Linked DNA regions of Homo sapiens: region 1 is linked to region 2. Evidence: promoter capture Hi-C in 16 types of primary human blood cells and fetal thymus (Javierre and others, 2016). All regions are on one chromosome and are shown on one strand. Each heading gives the region's core, a stretch centred on a gene start or on the middle of the fragment in contact. The rest is flanking DNA. Distances are from core to core; before and after follow the strand shown. Region 1 overlaps SYNE2 (spectrin repeat containing nuclear envelope protein 2). Region 2 holds the start of MTHFD1 (methylenetetrahydrofolate dehydrogenase, cyclohydrolase and formyltetrahydrofolate synthetase 1).

Evidence for each region. Contacts are between HindIII fragments. The CHiCAGO score rates a contact against its expected background, and 5 or more counts as called.
Region 1: a fragment that was not itself captured here is called in contact with the fragment with the promoter of MTHFD1 in region 2 in 1 of 17 cell types (fetal thymus); the score reaches 5.0 in fetal thymus.

Annotation. Positions count from the first base shown.
Region 1 is chr14:63,853,921-63,860,967 of GRCh38, reverse strand. All of the region lies in intron 1 of SYNE2 (spectrin repeat containing nuclear envelope protein 2), which reads right to left. Among named protein-coding and RNA genes, the nearest start is that of SYNE2, 4.4 kb to the right of the region's middle. The HindIII fragment of the contact is 5,881 bases long and covers 441-6,321 here.
Region 2 is chr14:64,383,546-64,391,018 of GRCh38, reverse strand. MTHFD1 (methylenetetrahydrofolate dehydrogenase, cyclohydrolase and formyltetrahydrofolate synthetase 1) reads right to left here and starts at 2,666. Exons shown (of 28, transcript NM_005956.4): 1 at 2,551-2,666. The coding sequence starts at 2,591. RefSeq lists enhancers at 2,814-2,903, 3,424-3,483, 3,504-3,603. The HindIII fragment of the contact is 3,471 bases long and covers 1-3,349 here.

The DNA of each region.
Region 1 (7,047 bases), core at 2,132-4,631, 530 kb after region 2:
TAGGTTGGCTGCTCCTGGTCCCTGGACCCTACTTTGAGAACCACTGCTCCAGCTGACCATGCTTTGCCCTGCTCATGTTTCCACTGCAGTGACTACCAATTACCCCACTGATTGCATGTTCCTCTGCTTATGGGCCTTTCTGCTTCTAGACAGCTTACAAGTGGCAAGAGACATTGACTTTTACCTGTGTGTCAGAGCCCAGATTCAATAAGTATTTAAAAAATAATTTGTTGAATGAATTAAATAGGGGTACATTTACACAGCCCGATAGAGAAGAGCTACTCACTGATAACAAACTGCACCCAGTGGTAGTACCCAAAGGAAGACTAAAAGTCAGCTGGAACCAGAGCAACAAGTAATTGGCAAATTCTAGGAAAATCCAAGCACCAAATCTCAGATTGAAATTTCCAATCAAATATGGACACTGACAAGCAAAAGCTTGAGGCTCCTTTTTGTCAAATGTGTTACTTTGACCTGAGGGGCTATTAGCAAGTGCTTTTCATCTCACACACCATCAAAAGAAAGAGATGCTTTCACACTTATCTTTCAACTCAACGTTTCTCAGGGTCTGGAAAATGTCAACACAGGAAGATTGATTCCTTCTCCCCATTCACCTCCCTCCTCCTAATGCAGCCCAGAGGAAAGAAAAGGAGGCAGTGCACCCTGCAGAACCTGTCTGGAGGGGAGGGTTCTCCAAGTGCAGGTGCTCTGAATATTGTAATACTCTGCAGTATTCTAAAATATGTTTCTATAACAGCAATGGTCTGCTCTATGATAATTTAGTGGATTTAGTTTAAGAAAATTAGTTTCTAGGCCAGGCACAGAGGCTCACACCTATAATCCTAGTACTTTGGGAGGCCAAAGCAGGCAGATCACTTGGGCCAGAGAGGCAGAGGTTGCAGTGAGCCAAGATGGTGCCACTGCACTCCAGCCAGCTGGGCAACAAAGCTAGACAGACAGACAGATGGTAGGAACGAAGGAAGGAAGGGAGGAAGGGAGGGAGGGAGGGAGGGAGGGAGGGAAGGAAGGGGAGAAGGGAGAAAGAGAGAGAGAAAGAAAAGAGAGAAAGGAGGGAGGAAAGGAGTGGAGTCCACTCCTTTAGTGCAGGCTGCACATAGTGACTTGCTTCTTTCTTTGTTTTCTCTTTTTCCCGAGGCAGAGTCTTGCTCTGTTGCCCAGGCTGGACTGCAGCGTCATGATCTCAGCTCACTGTAACCTCCACCCCCTGAGTTCAAGCAATTCTCCTGCCTCAGCCTCCCAAGTAGCTGGAATTACAGGCATGTGCCACCACACCCAGCTAATTTTGTATTTTTAGTAGAGATGGGATTTCACTATGTTGGCCAGGCTGGTCTCCAGCTCTTGACCTCGTGATCCGCCTGCCTTGGCCTCCCAAACTGCTGGGATTACAGGTGTGAGCCACCACGCCCAGCCAATTTTAAAAGTATTTTTAACTAAATACAAATAAAATCACACCATATCAAAATTTGTGAGATGTCACTAAAGTAGTACTGAGGAATAAATTTAAAAGACTAAACACCTATATCAGAAAAGAAGAAAAGTCACAAATCAATGACCTAAGGAAACTGGAATAAGAACAAATTAAACCCAAAAGTAGAAGGGAAAAATAAAGATCTGAGTGAAAATCAATCAAAGGGAAAATAGAAAAATATTAAACAATATCAATGAAACCAACAGCTGGTTCATGGAGTTCAATAAAATTAATAAACCTCAAGCCTAGAGTGTCTCAACCCTGGCACTACTAACACTTTGGCTGAATAATTCTCTATTGAGAGGATCTCACCTATCCACTGTAGGGTATCTAGCAGCATCCTAGACTTCTGCCCAGTAGATGGCTGGGAACAAATGCCCCTCGTCCCTACACCAGACATGGTTTCCAGACACTGTCTCCAAAAATTACCAAATGTTCCTGGCATAGGTGGGGTAAACTTCCACCCATATTCACACCATAAACAAAAATTAAAGTACATGAACCTAAATGTTAAACCAAAACCTATAAAAATTTTAGAAAAAAATCATAGGAGAAAGCCTTTTTGACTTTGAATTAGGCAGATTTCTTAGATAATAATACCAAAAGTACAATCCATAAAGAATAAATTGACAAATTGTACTTCATCAAAATTAAGAACAGTATCTTCAAAAGATATTGTTAAGAGAATGTAATAAATTTGCTATGGTTTAAATGTCCCCTCCAAAACTCTGGTGAAATTTAATCGCCATCGTAACATTATTAAGAGGCAATACTGTTACAATATTACAGTATTAAGAGATGGAACTTTTATCAGGTGATAGGTTATAAGGGCTCTGCTGTCATTAATGGATTAATGCCATCATCGCAGGAGTGGGTTCCTTATAAAGGAATAAATCAGGCTGAGAGTGGTGGCACGCACCTGGAGTCCCAGCTACTCAGGAGGCTAAGGCAGGAGAATCGCTTGAACCTGGGAGGCAGAGGTTGCAGTGAGCTGAGATCAAGCCACTGCACTCCAGCCTGGGCAACACAGCGAGATACTGTCTCAAAAAAAAAAATAGGCTGGGTGCAGTGGCTCATGCCTGTAATCCCAGCACTTTGGGAGGCCAAGGTGGGCAGATCACTTGAGGCCAGGAGTTCAAGACCATCCTGGCCAACACAGTGAAACCCTGTCTCTACTAAAAATCAAAAAAAAAAAAAAAAAAAAAAAAAAAAAAAAGGCCGGTGTGGAGACGCACACCTGTAATCCCAGGTACCACAATCACTAGAACCCAGGAGGCAGAGGTTGCAGTGAGCTGAGACTGTGTCACTGCACTCCAGCCTGGGTGACAGAGTGAGACTGTGTCTTAAATAAATAAATAAATAATAAAATAAAAATAATAAAACAGCTCCATTTTGCTTCTTTCTCACCCTCTCTTTGCCCTTCTGTCATGTAATGATACAGCAAAAATGCTCTCACCAGATGTCGCCCCATCAATCTTAGACTTCCCAGATTCTAGAACCATGAGCCAATAAATTTCTGTTCATTATAAATTACCCAATCTATGGTATTCTGTAATGGCAGCACAAAATGGACTAAGATAAGACTGAATGGAAATATTTGCAAATCTTACACGTGACAAATGACTTGCATCCAGAATACACAAAGAACTCTCAAAACTCAATAAGAAGGAAAACAATGCAAGAAAACGGGCAAAAAATTTGAGTAGACACTTCAACAAAGAAGATAAATGGATGGTAAATAAGCATATGAAATGATGCTCAACATCATTAGTCATCAGGGAAATGGAAATTAAAACCACAATGAGGTGTCACTACACACCCAACAGAATGGCTATAAAAGCCTAACCACCCCAACTGTTGGCAAGGATCTGGGGCAACTGGAACCCTCATAGACTATTTTGGTTATATTATATAACCACTTTGGAAAAGTATAGTAGTTCTTTGAAAAATTAAACATATGCCTACCATAGGATCTAGTCATTCTACTCCTAGACATCTACCCAGGGGAAATGAAAGATATGCATACAAAGACTGTGTATAATGTTCATGGCAGCTTTATTTTTAATAGCCCAAAACCAGAAACAACCTAAATGTCTATCAATGGGTGAAAAGATACATGAACTGGCGTCTATCAGTACAATGGAGTATTACTTAACAATAAAAAGAAATCAGCTATTGATACAATGTGGATGAGTCTCAAAATAATTATGCTAAGCAAAAGCCAGGCAAAGAAGAGAACTTACTACATGATTCCATTTACATAACATTCTAAAAAACGCAAACTAATCCACAGAGACAGAAAGCTATCATTGGCTGGATGAGGAAGAGGGATTCAGGGTATAGCAAGGAGCTACAGGGAGACAGTTCCACAGGTCTATACATAAGTCAAAAACTTCTCAAATGTAAACACGAGGCCAAGGGCAGACTCATGCCTGTAATCCAGCACTTTGGGAGGCTGAGGTGGGAGGATCACTTGAGGCCAGGAGTTGGAGACCAGCCTAGGCAACATGGTGAGACCTCTTCTCTACAAAAAAATTCACAGTTGGCCAGGCATGGTAGTGTGCACCTGTAGTCAGTTACTTGGGAGGCCGGGGTGGGAGAATCACTTGGGCCCAGGAGGTAGAGGCTACAGTGAGCCATGATCGCACCACTGTACTCCAGCCTGGGTGATAGAACGAGACCTTGTCTCAAAAAAATAAAATAAGTGAATTTACACTACTCCAGACATAATCTTTTATTTGATGAAAGTAGGAAAGGGGGCATTATGACACAGATCCTTTGTACATGTGAAAGCAAGCATTTTGTCTTTAAAAAGAAAAAAAGGAGGGGAACATACAGTGAAGACTCAGAGAATAGGCTATTGTATTTAATATTATTTCTTAATTAAGATGTTGCCAATCTGAAATATTTCACAATAATAAAAAAGGAAAAATGATTGTATGTTTCCAATTTGGCCTGTCCCACTCCCAGGCAGAACTAGGGGCTTCCCTCCTCCCACAGCCCCCAGGAGCACATGTGTATACTGCAATAGCTTGTCTTCCCACTAGACTAACAGCTTCACCAGGACAGGGACTGTCTTTTGATTTTGACATAGTGGTCAGATACAGGTTCGTTAGAGTCTGCGAGCCTGGCTTTGTATTCTAGGCGCTGCCACTCACCTACTGCATAATCTCAGAAAGTTATTCAATCTCCCTGATGCCCAGTTTCTTAAACCATAAAAAGGGCTAATAGGCTACATATGAGGATTCCATGTTAATTTCTCCAGAAAGGCCCTGCATGATCTGACACCTGATTTCCACCCTGTCATTTAGTCCTACCCTCCCTTAACTTGACAGTGCTCAGCCACAATGACCTCTCAGTTCCAATAAATCCACACACCACCTAGCTCTTTCCTGCCTGGAGGCCTTTGAGCATCCTATCTCTCGGCCGGATCTTCTTCCATGCCTGTCTCCTCTCTACAACCTCTTATGCCACAACAACATGGCTAGCTCCTTCTCATCTTCAAGTCTCAGTTAAATGTCACTTCCACCTAGAGGCCTTCTCACCAGTATTCTAGGAGGCCTTGGTTATTCCATGTCCCAGCACTCTGTTATACCCTTCTTTCCACTCAACACTCATTCAAGTTATTGAGGACCTGCTATACGCCAGTTACCGTTCCAGATTCTGAAGGTGTAACAGTGAATAAAACAGCTGTGATACAGTTCTGAAGGATATAAAATCTCCCGAAAAAGACAGACAATAAACAAGCAACATATGATATAGCCATAAGTGCTACGGAGGAAAAATAACAACTTATGAAAGGAGGAATGGGAGTCGCGAGGATGGCTGTGATTTTAAATTTGGAGGTTAGTGAAGGCTCACTGACAAAATAACATCAAGTAAAGAAGTGAAGGGGGTCAGATCAACAAGAGCCATTAGAGATATGGGAGCTAGGGACAGGGGGTCATTCCAGGCAGCGCACAACAAGTCCAAAGGCCCTCATGCAGCAAGAAAGCTGGTTTGGCTGTAGACACTCGAGTAGGGAGGAGAGCAACAGATAAGATAGGAAAGTCACAGCATGGAGAGGCAGGGAAGCCAAAAGAGGTTGTTCTGGGAGCCACTGTCAGGTCTTTGCCATTCACTCAGAGAGACATAGGAAGCCAATGGAGGGTTTTGAACAGAAGAATGATGTGATATGATTTACCTTTCAAAAGCTGCTATTAGTTTAGCAATATATTTTATTTCCTGCCTAGATTCCCCACCTAGATAAGGGCAGGAATCACGACTGTCTTGTGCACCACTATCGCCCCAACACCCAGCACAATACATTGTAGGTACTCAATAAATACTTATAGATGAAAAAGGTAAAAAGGTAATCTATGTAAAATATCTACTGGTATAAAATAAGCATTCTATAAGGAGTAACTATTATTATTCAGATCTCCAGAAGCCAGCACAGTGGCTGGTATATGTAGGAGTTTGAGTAAATGAATAAATAACTTTGTGAAATTATTGAAAATATATATTTAAAACATATAAGTAATGAAAAATATAATAATGAAAAATGAACCAATTGCTTTTCACCCGTTCCCTTATTAAAATGTGATTCATTCAGTTTTTAAATTTTACATTAACTCTCACCTTATGCTAGTGAGAGCACTACTCAGAATAACCTCATTGTGACTCAGTTCTCTAAACATTCTGTAATATCCTACAACACAATTAACACGAATCCACTGAAATGCTAAAAAATTTCTAATTAGGTAAATTTATTCACATGATTTTTCAAACAATTTTAAGGCTAGCTGACCAAAAGTGGTTTGAGTTTGATTTTTTAAAAATTCAGATAAGCTTTGTTAATTCAAACATGTGGACAAAGACCTAAACATTTCCACTTTTTACTTATTTTGACATCTCCATTCTTCACCACGAAAAAACTTAATGAGGATTACACCTGTTCCCACCGCCCCAGGGGGCTGGCCGGGCTAAAGCCGTTCAGTAATTATCTCAGGAAAAGCCCTTAAGAGTCTCCACAGCTTTCCAGAAAGACAACTTGGAGAAGGAGTCATGCATTAAAGCATGAAAACACACCAAATATTCATCCCATAAAAGCTGAACACTCTCCTCTGAACATGTTTACGATGTCTCAGTGGCAGGTACTGGAGTGGTGAGAAGGCCAGGTGTAGCCCGGCATGGTTTAATTGTATTCCCCAACTCTAAAAATGATCGAACCCATCCTAGCATAGCCAAATAGTATCTGCAACGAAGCCTTCGGACTTCTAGAAAAGCACACAAAAGTTGCTTCAAATAAAACAAACTCAAAAAAAAAAAAAAAAGTGATGCCAAGTGTGGAGCGGCTTGAAAGAACCCTCACGGGTTGGCTCCGACTTGCTGGTGCTTGTACACAACCGTGCCTGCGGCGTCCAGCTCAGACGCTCCCTTTCACGGAGGGAGGGGGAAATAACTTTCGGAAACAGCAGGCTTCCACAAACGCGAATGCTACACAGGACTTCTCAGCCTCAATCAAATAAGGCGCTAATGTTCCCAGCAGCACTGATTCCATACACAGCCCCCGCCCC
Region 2 (7,473 bases), core at 1,417-3,916:
CTGGCCTCAAATGATTTCCTAATCCGCAGGATGGAATGTGGGAAGTGGGCTGGATTTTTAAGAAATTCTAGGACCGGTGCAGTGGCTCATGCCTGTAATCCCAGCACTTTGGGAGGCCGAGGTGGGTGGATCACATGGGGTCAGGAGTTACAGACCAGCCTGACCAACATGGTGAAAGCCCGTCTCTACTAAAAATACAAAAATTAGCCGGACGGGGTGGCACACACCTGTAGTCTCAGCTACTCGGGAGGCTGAGGCAGGAGAATCGCTTGAACCTGGGAGGTGGAGGTTGCAGTGAGCCAAGATCATGCCATTGCACTCCAGCCTGGGCAACAAGAGTGAAACTCTGTCTCAAACAAACAAACAAACTAGCTGGACATGGTGGCGGACGCCTGTAATCCCAGCTACTTGGGAGGCTGAGGCAGGAGAATCGCTTGAACCCAGGAGGCAGAGGTTGCAGTGAGCCGAGATCACGCCATTGTACTCCAGTCTGGGCGACGAGTGAAACTCCATCTCAAAAAAAAAAATTAGCTAGGCGTGATGGCGGGCACCTGTAATCCCAGGTACTCAGGAGGCTGATATGAGAGAATTGCTTGTATGCAGGAGGCAGAGGTTGCAGTGAGCCAAGATTGGACACAGCAAGACTTCATCTCAAAAAAAAAAATAGATCTCAAGGCAGCAGCTACCATGTAAAAAAAAAAAAAGATAATGAATCATTCATATATACATTAACTAATTACTGATTATTAATACAACATATATCGAATACTTATTATGTGCCAGGAAGAATTATAAATGATCATCTGTTAGGAACCCATTTAATTCTACTAACATCCCAATGACCTAGACATTACTTTTACTTAACATTTGAGGAAACTTTGGCACAGAAAGGTTAATTAATTTGCTTAAAACCACACAAGTAGTAAGGCAGGAAACAGGGTTTCCAGGTGTTTAGGATATAGACAAAAATAAGACAATACATGTATTTGCCCTTATGGAGTTGATAAACATATTTAATTTGCTCTCCAATTAACGAAAGTATATTCAGTGAGCACCTATTCTCAGTACTGGCCCAGATGCATTATTATTGTACTAAATTATCTGCACTATTATTATGCACTAAATTATCTCTTCACAATCAGTCTTTCTAAAAGGAAGATTTTTATATTAAAACAAAAAGCCACTGGAAAAGGAAGTAAGTTTGAATACAAGCAAACAAAAACAGAAAGTAAAGCAGAAATACAGTTTAGCAAGCCACATGTTGAAAAGCACTAAGCAGTAAGTATTGTGATTTCTTTTTTTTTTTTTCTTAGACGGAGTTTCGCTCTTGTTGCCCAGGCTGGAGTGCAATGGCGCATCTCAGCTCACTGCAACCTCTGCCCCCCAGGTTCAAGTGATTCTCCTGCCTCAGCCTCCCAAGTAGCTGGGATTACAGATGCCTGCCACCACACTCGGCTAATTTTTTGTATTTTTAGTAGAGATGGGGTTTCACCATTTTGGATAGGCTGGTCTTGAACTCCAGACCTCAGGTGATCCACCCACCTCGGCCTCCCAAAGTGCTGGGATTACAGGCATGAGCCACTGGGCCCGGACTTTTCACCACCGATGACTTTGTAATTCACTCAAAAACCTATTACAAAGTTAGGAGTTACAGGACAATTACAATTTAGTAACTGCTGTGGCTGGCAACAGTTACTTACATAACGGGTGATGTGAAAGGTCCCAAGAGCAAACTCAGTAAGGTCACACAGAATATATCTTTCCCTCCTTCATCTACTAGAGGGAATATATTTTTCCCTCTTCCTTCTACTCTCATTTTTCCTCACCAGTCACCTCCCAGACAAAAAGCAGCCAGTGTTACTTCCTGGGAGTAAAGCTGGCAACGATACCCACTAATTAAGCATTCAGATGTCCCGCAAGGGTAGAACAGGCAGAGGTCAAGTGGAATGCAGAATATTCTCAGGACTCAGGAGCCAAATTACGTTTCAAGTAACTCTAGGACCAGGGCAGAGAGATGGCTGTTAGAGAGAAGCACGAGATTGAAGAGAAAGGAAAAATGTATTAGATTTCACTTAGCGTATGATAAGACTATGGTATAGTGGGAAAAGCTATGAGCTGGAAGGACCCTCTGTCATTATCAGCCTTGTAGTCTTGTCAAGCCTTGTCACCTCACTAGTCTCCATCTACTCACCTCCAAATTAACGGGAATTAAGTAGATTGGATTTCTGAGTTCTGACTAGGGGGGCTCCAGGAAGCCGCAACTACCCACTCTCCCGGCAGAAAGTCACCAGCAGCTGCGCGTTTGGGAGCATAGTCGGCACAGGACTTTTCCCCGAAGCACAGGAGCCAGCGGCTACAGCCACTAGGCAGTCCACTTGCAAACGCAGGTTGTGCCCGGGTTCTCTTTCTTTGGCTGCAGGTCTTCAGGTGTTATGGGCCTAACTCTTCCGCTACAAGTGTCCCTCCCGCAAAAAATGGGTCCGGGGGACCTGCACACCCTCAGAGCCCTCGTCCACAGCCCCACACTCAACAACAATGTCAGGTGCTTACGCGGAGATCTCCTTCCCGTTCAGGATTTCTGCTGGCGCCATGGCCTTTATTAGTCCGCTGCCCACGATGGACACCACCAATATCGAGGTTCCACTCCCTCCGCAGCCAAGCAGGACAACCCAACCCACGTGCTTAGGGACTGGCCAGGGGATCACACTACTGCGCCTGCGCCCCTGCCCGCTTCTCCCCCTGCAGACGCGGTGGCGCATGCGCAGTTCGGAAGGACCCGAGTCCCTTAACTAACCGAGAGCTAACAGGTCGGGGACTGCGGGACGGAAGAGGGAGGGGAAGATGAAGAAAATCGGTGATGAATGGCTGGCGGAAATGATTGGCGGAAAGAAAGAGCCAGTTCACAGTGCGCCTTTGTATTCGGCGGGAAACCCGGCCGAAGAGGGAGCTGGAAAGGACTCCGGAATCCGGCCGTAATTCCAGCCAATCAGGGAGTAGAGTTGCGGGGCGGGGTTGGGGCGGGGCAGTCTCGCGGGAGATAGTTTCGCGGGTTCGGGAGGCGAGTCTCCGGTTTCCGCCCAGTCTCTGGGGACGCGGTGGCGGGGTCTGAATCGCCTGGCTTCCAGGGAGTTTTGGGCGGGTCCCCGCACGGGAGCGTGGCAGGCGCTGGACTCGACAGCAGATGTGGAACTGGAGAGCTTGGCGCGCCCTCATACTTTGTCACACACCTACGCCACCAGACTGGGGTCGGGCCCCTCCGCGTTCTGCTCTGGAGGGCCTGGGTCTGGGCCCAGCATAGCGCTTTTAGAATCTCCTCAGCTGAATCTGACGCTCAGCCGTAGGTGAAGCTTAGCCCGCTGTTTCAGGCCCCGCCGATCTGGAAGGAGTGTCAGAGCTGGAGCGCGCGTGGCCTCATCGGTGTTGGGGTCACCCCGGGGTTGCCAGGGCTCATGGAGGGTCGTAGTCTGGATTTTGTCACCCCCACGTCCCCGCCCCGCAGCAAGTCTGGGGTTGGAGAACTCACGCGGTCTTCGTAAGCTACATGCCAGTTGACCCTCGAGGAGGGATGCTCCCTCCCCTTAAGCGTCCACGCTGGAGAAGGAGTAAGATGGACAATTGCCTGGGGAGCCTGACAGGGCGGTGGCAGCTGGGATGCTGGAGAGGACTGGCCCCTTGTGTTACTGAGTCCAAGGAATATGCTTGCTCTGCTCTAGGAACCGCGTTCAGGTTACAGTCATCCCAGTAGAGTCCTGAAGATGCGTGGTTCAGGTCACTTAGGACTTGACCAGATACCGGGTTTCTTTTACAAGCCGTTTACTACTGGCAGAGCTCATCTAAAACTTTTTTTGTTTGTTTGTTTGAGACGGAGTCTCATTCTGTCGCCCAGGCTGGAGTGCAGTGGCACGATTTTGGCTCACTGCAACCTCCGCTTCCCGGGTTCAAGCAGTTCTCTGCCTCAGCCTCCCGAGTAGCTGGGATTACAGGCACCACCTAATTAGCCCGCCACCACGCCCGGCTAATTTTTGTATTTTTAGTAGAGACGGGGTTTCACCATCTTGGCTAGGCTGGTCTTGAACTCCTGACCTCGTGATCCACCCGCCTCGGCCTCCCAGAGTGCTGGGATTACAGGCGTGAGCCACCGCACCTGGCCTAAAACTGATTTTTTATTAATTTTGGGGCTTTTAATATTTTTTTCTTATTTCTAAATTCTGAGGTTATTTATAGTAGCCCCATATACGGGATTAGATAATCTCTTGTGATTTTCTATTTCTGGTAATTATTTCTAATATATGTTTTTTTGTTTTTGAGACGGAGTCTCGCTATGTCGCTCAGGGTGGAGTGCAGTGGCATGATCTCCGCTCTTTGTAGCCTCTGCCTCCCGGGTTCAAATGATCCTCCCACCTCAGCCCCCCGAGTAGCTTGGACCACAGGTGCATGCCACCACGCCGGCTAATTTTTCTATTTTTGGTAGAGTTGGGGTTTCACTATGTTGACCAGACTGGTCTAGATCTCAAGGGATTAGTCTCCCTTGGCCTCCCAAAATGCTGGGATAATGGGCATGAGCCACCGTGCGTGGCCTTAAAGTTACTATTCTTAAAGTTTGCACAAGTGATATGTTAAAGGCACAGACTTAGTAATATAATGTCATTATAATAATAACCCTAAAACACATTGTCTCATATTGTGTTGTACCTAAACAAGTGAAATTAAGAAGAAAATTGAAGGAAATGTTTCTGGTAAATTGCAGATAGTGAATCTTTTGTCTTATACTATCAAATAGGTATTGACTATTCCAGCTTTCTTATTTGTTGAGGAAGATGGCAGAAATCCCGTTTTACAGAGGGATAGACTTTGAAGGATAATACCCAAAGCTGCATAGCTGTGGCTGGTATAGGCCCCAAACCTGATGTTTCTTCTCTAAATCTACTGCCTTTGCCATCTCAACAGCCTGGTTTTTGACAGTTATCTATGTATGAGTTGCATAAATCGTTCATTCATGGAGCAAATAATTATTGAGTGGCCACTATGCCAACAGCACTGCTATAGATGCTAGAGATACCCTAGTGAACCAGCAAAGTTTCTGCTCTCAGCTCATATTCTGGTGGAGGAGACAACGATCAAGTTAAAGAAATACATAGGCTAATTTTAGAGATTATGACATGCTATATTTTAAAAATAGGCAAGCTAAGAGGATAGGCAGTGATGCTGGGAGGTGGGAAAGTTTTGTCTCAGAAATGTGGTAAGAGATTTCTTTGGGCATCTGACTTCAGCAGAAACCTTAATGAAGAGAGGAACTTGGAATGTAAAAGAAAGAAAGCAGGGATTTGCTCTGAGCAACTGGAAAGATGGAATTGCCATTCGCTGAGTTGAAATAAAGTAAAATGTAGGACTAGGTTTTGGGGTTAAGATTATGAATTCGGCTTTAGACATTTTTAGATTTCTCTTAGACATCCAAATGGAGAGAAGATATTTAAATCCATGGGATTGAATGAGATCCAACCAAGGGTATTGTAGGTAGAGAGAGGACCAAAGACTGACACCTAGAACCTTTCAGTGTTCAGAATGCAAGGAGACAGGAGGAACCAAGAGGGAAGATTGAAAAGGAGAGTCCAGCTGGGAGCTGTGGCTACACCTTTACTAATCCCAGCACTTTGGGAGACCAAATACAGGAAGATCACTTGAATCCAGGAGTTTGTAGAACAGCCTTAGCAACATAGCAAGACCCTGTCTCTACAAAAATAAAAATTAAAAAATTTGCCTGTAATCCGAGCATTTTGGAGGCCGAGGTGGGTGGATCAGCTGAGGTCAGGAGTTTGAGACCAACTTGGCCAACACAGTGAAACCCCGTCTCTACTAAAAATACAAAAATTAGCTGGGCGTGATGGCTGGCACCTGTAATCCCAGCTACTCGGGAGGCCGAGGCAGGAGAATCCCTTGAACCTAGGAGGCAGAGGTTGCAGTGAGCCGAGATCACGCCACTGCACTCCAGCCTGGGAGACAGAGCGAGACTCCATCTCAAAATAAATAAATAAATAAAAATTTAAAAAGTTAGCTGGGCGTGGTGGCATGTACCTGTAGTCCCAGTTACTCAGAAGGCTGAGGTGGGAGGATCCTGTGAGCCTAGGAGTTGGAAACTTCAGTAAGCTATAATCATCACACTGCACTCCAACCTAGGCAACAGAGCAAGACCCTGTCTCTTAAAAGGAAAGGAGAGTCCAGTGTGTTCTAAGGAAAACCCCAAGAGCATCCCACCTTAGAATACAAGTGAGGAGGCCTGGCATGGTGTCTCATGCCTGTAATCCCAGCACTTTGGGAGGCCAAGGTGGGTGGATCACTTGAGGTCAGGAGTTCTAGACCAGCCTGACAAACATGGCGAAACCTCCGTCTCTATAAAAATACAAAAATTAGCCAGGTGTGGTAGCGCGTGCCTGTAATCCCAGCTACTAGGGAGGCTGAGGCAGGAGAACTGCTTGAACTCAGGGGGCAGAGTTTGCAGTGAGCCGAGATAGTGCCACTGCACTCCAGCCTGAGCAACAGAGTGAGACTCTGTCTCAAAAACAAACAAGTAAACAAACAAAAAAAAAAACAAGACAAGTGAAGAATGTGTTTCATGGAAAAAGAGGTAATTAATTCTGTCAAGTGTTGCAAATTGGTCAAATAAAGAATGAAAATCAACCTTTCACAGCAAATAGAAGGAAAAAATATTTTTATTTAAATGCTTATAAAGGCAGTTGCTAGAAAAAATGTTTACTTTTTGCAGAGGCCCCGTTTTTACAACCTTTTTCAGGGGTAATTTGATATGATAATATCTACGGGAAAAAAAATGTTTTTTTTTTTGAGTCGCTCTGTCACCAGGCTGGAGTGCAGTGGCATGATCTCGGCTCACTGAAACCTCCGCCTCCCAGGTTCAAGCAATTCTTCTGCCTCAGCCTCCCAAGTAGCTGGGACTACAGGTGGGCGCCACCACACCCAGCTAATTTTTGTATTTTTAGTAGAGACGGGGTTTCACCATGTTGGCCAGGATGGTCTCAATCTTGACCTCGTGATCTGCCTTCCTTGGCCTCCCAAAGTGCTGGGATTGGTACAGGTGTGAACCACCATACCTGGCCCGAAAATTTTAAATTTGTATTTTCTTTGACATTGTAATTCCACTTCCAGGATTTTTTTTTTTTGGACAGGATTTTACTCTGTCACCCAGGCTGGAGTGCAGTAACACAATCAGCTCACTGCAACCCTGAACTCCTGGGCTAAAGTGATCCTTCTGAGTAGTTGGGACTATAGGCACATGCCACCACCCCTGATTAATTAAAAAATTTTCCTGTAGAGATAGTCTTGCTATGTTGCCCAGACTGGTCTCCAGCTCCTGGCCTCAAACCATCCTCCCACCTTGACCTTCCAAAACGTTGGGATTACAGGCGTGAGCCACCTCTCCCAGTTTAGGAATTTATCTTAAAGTAATATTTACATATAAAG